Regions from separate parts of the Homo sapiens genome. Here region 1 is linked to region 2. The links are contacts of gene promoters, found by promoter capture Hi-C in blood cells and fetal thymus (Javierre and others, 2016). All regions are on one chromosome and are shown on one strand. The core of a region is centred on a gene start or on the middle of the fragment in contact, and the rest is flanking DNA. Distances in the headings are between cores, read along the strand shown.

Region 1 (3,230 bases), core at 408-2,907, 220 kb after region 2:
TTTAGAGTTGCCAGTTTAAGCCTTTGCCTTATTTTTCTAATGGGGTGTTTACAGTTTTATCTTGCATTTGTAGGAGTTCCTTATATATTAACCAATTGACTTCTCTGCGACATCATCTCCCCATAGGAATTGAACCCAGTAATTTAGCCAGGCTCTCCTTACGCCAAGTCTTCAAGATAACTGAATTTATATTGAATTATTATCAAATATAGAAATACTTATAAATAGTTGTAGTTCTTTTTTTTTTTTTTCTTTTGAGACAGGATCTTGCTCTGTTGCCCAAGGTGGAGTTCAGTGTCATTACCATAGCTCACTGTAACCTCTAACTTCTGGGCACAAGTGATCCTCCCACCTCAGCCTCCCAAGTAGCTAGGACTACAGGCATGTGCCGCCACACCTGGCTAATTTTTTTTAATTTTTTGTAAAGATGGGTTCTATGTTGCACAGACTGATTTCAAATTCCCAAAGTACTAGGAGTACAGGCATGAGCTACACCGGGGCCTACACAGTTGCTCTTAAAAACAAAGCTATTTTCTTTTGAAACAGCTACAGACAAATAAGGAGACGTTGAGTGTATTTACTAATGGAAAAAACAGTGTCTCTATTATTTTTTGCCTTTGAAGGGATATTGGGGAAAAAAATCTGCCAAAACCCATTAATCAGACTTCAGCTTTGTTCTCCTCAGGTTTAAGCCTTTGGGGGCTTTCACCAACTGTAATTTCAGACTCACAAATGACCTCCTTCAATTACCTCATACCCCTCACTCCCAGACTAACCTTCCTTTCCTGTCCTATCTCTCCCTTGCTCAAAAATATGTGGTGGCTCCCAAATGCTCCATATATTAATATAGACTGCCACACTCTGACCCCTCTACCTCCTTCAATGTCTCATCTCCCTTCTGACCCTCTCTGCAGTGGAAGCCTTAAAGGTAGGAACACATTTACTCCCCACTGGATCCCCAGTGTCTACCTCAAGACCTGGTATAAAATAGTCAATGATGTCTGCTGGATCTGGTTGAATGCAAAAATGTCTACTGTATATGGGAAAGGAGTCGAGTCCTCCTCCAGGTATGGAACCAAATGTGATAAAGATGAACTCACTTACTGACTGGGATGTACACATATTAAATTCATAGGAAGGTGGAGGGGGAGCAACAGAGGCCCTTTCACACGTGGGCACCTGCTTTTGCGTAGCTAACATATCCAGTCCTCTCAGAAGCCCTCAAAGGTGAAGTTCTTGGAGCTAGGACATGGAGAACCCTAGCCACTGGGCTCGTTGGTTTCTTCCTTGCTCCCGCTGGCAGGATGCTAAAGGTGCTCTTCAATCCCAAAGTTGTATTTGCTATCAGTTACCCAAGACTTAGGTGAGTGTGATAGAGACAAACAGCCTAGCAGATGACAGCACTGTAGGTGGGTTGCAGCTATATCCACACCAAAACAACCTCCACTCAGGGACCAGACATTCCCAGATGACTGCTTGTCACCTTTCCTGTGCACCTGTTTTTCCTACTGGGTTTGAATCTCAGGGAGAGGCATGTGCCCCAAATCTGAGTGTCCACCTTCTCCTTCTCTCCTGGCCTTATACCCACCAAGCTATAGAGTCCTGTCTCTCTCTTCCTGGCCTCTCTCTAACCCATGCCCTTTTCCCAGTGCTTCCTGACACTGCCTTAGTTCAAAGCCGCATCAGTTCCTCCTCCCGTGCCTCCATAATCATCTTTTTAAAGTAAAATCATGACACTTTCCTCCTCAAAGCCTTTCACAGGCTGACCATCACCTTCAAGATCAAATTCAAGTTCGATAATTGATACATGAAGCCAAGAGTGATATTCAAAATAGTTAACCACCTCTATAGTTTTTCTTGAGTATCACTGGATATTAGCCAAATAAAACAAACTCCAGGCACCATGGTGGGGTAGGGTCTTGCAGGCCCCACCATTGGGCTGAACATTAACCCTTTAGTTGCTGGTTGTAGGGAAATCCAAGGGTCTCCAGGGAGGTGCCAGGGTTACAGGGGGCACTTTAGGGGCTTGAGTCAGTAGCTATTTTCCAACCAGGTTGGAGACATTATCGTATTTTAACAGCCAGTATAGCCATGCTGAGTGTACCAGCACACAGCCCATTTTGAATGTCTCTTGCCAGTCCCCACTTCTCCCCAGGAGAGGTGTTGGCCCTTTGCAAACGCAGTCTCCTTTGCCTGGAATGCTCTTCCCATGTGTGTCCTTTCCAGCTCAAGTGTCATCTGAAGGCAGGCTTCCCTGGACTCCAGGTATAAGTAATGCGGTCCTTCTACTGGGATTTCAGCATGGCCTGTGCGTAATCACACAGATGGTCTCCTCTTCCCTCTCTCTTGCATTTGCAGAGTCCTTACCTTGTTCCTTACTGTCAAACAATTCATAAACATTTGTTCAATTGAAAGAAAGTGAACCTTAGAGCTGGGAGGAGCCCATTGTCCATGACTCAGGACAAAGCTGTGCAGGCATCGTTGCAGCAAGTGACTCAGTGGCATTTTCTGTATAATGAATGACTGCACACAGCACGCAGGATGCTCTCCACAATTTGTGATTGTGCACCCTTCCCAATAAGCAATCCTTTTGGGTATTTGCTACACACATACATTTATATGTAATTCTATTAATAAATTTTACTCATGCCCATTAAGCTAAAATGTCATGTACATTTAAAAACATTTTGTCTCAAAAAAAGAAAAAAAACTAATATTTTGTCAATTTTACACAATGAAGTGTAAAAATAAAAAGATAAACTTTTTTAAAGGTAAAAAATAAAAACTATTTTGGATCGTATAAAGCACACACACATTAATGCACTTTAAAGGATAAAATAATGATATACGCAGAGTTCTAAACTCTTCTTTTCACATCTCAATGAGCATCTCTGTGCCCCACACTGGAGGTCGCTGCAGAGGTGCTGTGTGCCAAAGTCACTGTACACAGGTCCATACAGCGGCTGCATCCTGGAGAGCCAGTCTCCCCCTGCCAATATTCTAAGTTTCCATCAAAGTCCAGCTCAGATGCTAAAAGCAGATTATTAATATATCTGGAAGTCATGTTAGAGACCACATATTCTAATCTCTATAGGACACAAAAAAAGGAAAGAAAGAAAAGGAAGGAGAGAGAGAGAGAGAGAGAGATAAATACCCATTTTACAGCATCCTTTATAAATGGCAAATAAAAAACAGCTAGAAGTAGGTCTAGACTATTGGTCCTTAAATAG
Region 2 (3,278 bases), core at 156-2,655:
CTGGCACTCAGCCTTCCACTTCGTTCCCATGCTTTCAGCGCTAGGTCTGAACACTTGCCTGATGGTCCTGAACCCCTGGGCTAGGGCTCTTGCTTACATTTGCCAGTTCAGTGTGTGGTAAGATCTTTCCAATTATTTGCTAATGAATTAGTGGAGGATTGAATGGACAAATGAATGAAGTTTCTCTCCGAAGCCCCACATCTGAACTTGCTGATGGATTTTCTTTCTGCTCCGTTGTCTGGTGTCCACTTCAGTTATTTATTCACCCATTTATTGAGTCTTTAGTGTGCAGTGGGTAATGTTCAATAGAAAGAGTCATGTCTACTCCAGTCCTGCACCTTCCCATTCTGTTACTACAAAGGTGCAATTTACCTCACTGCAGTCAAACCATTTCTTGTGTTAAGTAGCAAATAGAGGTTTACACTGTGAAACCAGGCAAGTCTTGGACTTGGGAATGAGGTTCTTGGAACAGAATCCCAATGCATGGCTAACAGTGAGAGTCTGCAGGTGACAAAGGAACCGGGCTCCATTCTGCTGATGGCTGGGGAAGGGGAGGAGAAGCTGCTGACCTTTGCTGAAGGACTAGGATGAACTACTCATCCCATTTTACAGCAGGCAACCTATTTTCAGAACATTGAGGTGAGAGTCTAATCTCTATCAAAGTCTTCCTTTCTTACCAAATGCTATAGGAAGTCTCTTTATTTCTTTTAGCCTCAGTCTCAGAGTCATAGTGCTCATTAATGTGACCATGTATGGTAAAGGTAAAATGTAATAAGATGTTAATTTGATTATTATTAATATCATGCTGAAGTACTTGGGGTTGATGTATCATTATTTCTGCAATCTACTTTCAAATGGTGTGTGGTGGGGGAAGGATACAGACAGAAATAAAGCAATTGTGGCAAAATGTGGCAATTGGTAAATCTAGGTTAAGAGTGTACAGATATTCCTGGTACTGTTCCATCAGCATTTCTAAGGATTTGACTTTTTTCAAAATAGAAACTAAGTTGAGAAAAAACTAAATAAGAAAAAATAAAATGTGATGGCTGTGCCTCTCCTCAACTCCACTGTATGAACACAAGCAAGGTCCTTACTGTCTCTAAGCCTCTTCGTTGAGAGTAAAAAACTGGGGAAATTAAGCCTTGCCTTTTATACTCCCTCAGTGTTTTGTGAACACCAGTCATGGTCACAGATGTAAAGTGTTTTGCAAACCATCCAGGACTGTCAGGGCATAAGGGGTTAACGGATGTGATCATTTGTACAGCACCAAGCGATGTGTAGATCACCGGGCCAAACCCTTGGCTGTCTAGACTCCAGCCAATCTGTGTGCCTCAGCCACCTTAACATTACATATGCATGACTGGCCTCCTGGATTCTTCCCTGCTCAGAGCACCAGCTGCAAGCACACAGTCTTCTTCCTGAGAACTAGCGGGCAGAGCAAACTCCGCTGCTTCCATTCAGAAACCTCGGAACAGACCTTTGCCTGCCAACTTCCTAGCTCTCTGGCCAGCTTCTGATTGTTAGCAGTGGGTTAGCTCCCATGAAAACCTCGAAGGCATCCCAGCGCTATAGAGGCATCCGGAGAAATGCCAGCCAGTGCTACCTCTACCAGGAATCTCTGCTGCTCAGGTGAGCTGGCCCCATTCATCAGCTGGGCAGAGGAGTCAGGTGTGTGAGGAAGGAATGCATGGGTCACCAGAGCGAGGGACAAAGTCCCTGTCCTGCTCAGTTGTCCTTCAGAATGAACTCAGAAACTCACTTCTCCAGGTTGTGGTACAACTAGGATGGCAACCTCAGCAACGGGCATGGGGGGAAATGGTTCTTCTGGCTGCTTCTTGACCAGGAGGTCAGAATCCAAAAGCTTGCATCCCAACCTGGCTTTATGGCTGGCCAAACCCACAGATATGTTTCCCTGTTTTCTCTATGTTCACTCAATCAGCAATGTCAAGAGAGAGCAGATAATATGTCTATCATGATAAATAAAGTGTTTATTGGAAAAGCCTTCAGGCTAGTTAGAAGTGGATGAGAGTGCTATTCGAATTTGTTAAATATTTATAAAGGTCTAGTACAGCTGCCATTTAATTTGGTGAAATTGAAAAAAATTCTCCTCTAAATGAGTAAAAACAACATGAATTAGAGAATAACAAACGAAATCTTTTATTTCTAATAGTCATAGATGAATACTCTTAACTCCTCTCAAAATGTTGCATTAGGATAAGCATATTAAGTGTAACTGGGAGTAAATGTTGCTACATGTTGGAAAATTGTTCCTCTTGAGAGTATCTATTTCCTGAAATATCTCACCCATGTAAATTTGCTTAGCTAATCTTTCGCTCGTAGAAATTGCTTTGCCTGGCTCTGCCTCGGTTATCTCAGGCTTAAAATGAATTGACGTGAAAGGGTGAAGAGGGGTTTCTGAGTGGCAGAAGTTTTGATTTATGTTACCTTCAAGTAACATAAGGAGTCCTGCCTCTAAAATTAGCTGATTATTTCAATGAGCCTGAAAAAGAAATTATTTTGCCTACCCAAATTGCTGCTACTCAGGAATCCAAGAGTACGTAAATACCCTCTTGTCTCATCTTGTGTTTTCTGATAATATCATGCACCCTGAGAAATCATTATCTTCTAATGACCCAGTGGAAGTAATTGAATCCAATAAATGTGTTTCAACAGGCTACTGACACTGGCAAATTATCTGTTTCTGTGGGTCCCTCACTTTACACACACACACACACACACACACACACGCACAAACACATACACATTTCATACAGATGACCCTAGGGCAGTGAGATGCTGAACTTGTGCCCAGGGCAAGATGATCTTTGCTGGAAGCAATTCTTCTAATCAGATTTCCTCCTTAATGCCCTGATCATTCAGCAACTTGGATGACAGCTTTAGTGCTGATGAAACAGGGGACAGCAATGATCCGGAACAAATCTTCCAGAATATACAGTTCCAGAAAGATCTCATGGCAAACATTCGCTGCAGACCCTGGACTATGGGACAGAAGCTGAGGGCATTGAGGTAAGGGCCTCAATGGCCATTATTGATCATTACAAGCATGCTTTCCGATAAACCACCTTGCCTTGCCCATGGGAACGAGGATAAAGACTCATGTGAGAGAGATGGCTCAGTCACTCTTGACCTGAATTAGCAAAGTCACAAAGATATCTGAGAGGTCTAGCTGGTCCAGAAGCCAGTTCCTCTGTGTGTGTGTGTGTGTGTGTGTGTGTGTGTGTGTGTGTGTGTGTGTGTGTGTGTGTGTCAGAGAGACA

Evidence for each region. Contacts are between HindIII fragments. The CHiCAGO score rates a contact against its expected background, and 5 or more counts as called.
Region 1: a contact is called between a fragment that was not itself captured here and the fragment with the promoter of TMC3 in region 2, in 1 of 17 cell types (total B cells). The highest score is 5.9, in total B cells.

The regions. Positions count from the first base shown.
Region 1 is chr15:81,152,226-81,155,455 of GRCh38, reverse strand. No RefSeq gene overlaps it. Among named protein-coding and RNA genes, the nearest start is that of CFAP161, 20 kb to the right of the region's middle. The HindIII fragment of the contact is 5,994 bases long and covers 1-3,230 here.
Region 2 is chr15:81,372,340-81,375,617 of GRCh38, reverse strand. It overlaps TMC3 (transmembrane channel like 3), which reads left to right and starts at 1,405. Exons shown (of 22, transcript NM_001080532.3): 1 at 1,405-1,629; 2 at 2,881-3,027. The coding sequence starts at 1,541. All of the region lies in intron 5 of TMC3-AS1 (TMC3 antisense RNA 1), which reads right to left. The HindIII fragment of the contact is 5,020 bases long and covers 1-1,863 here.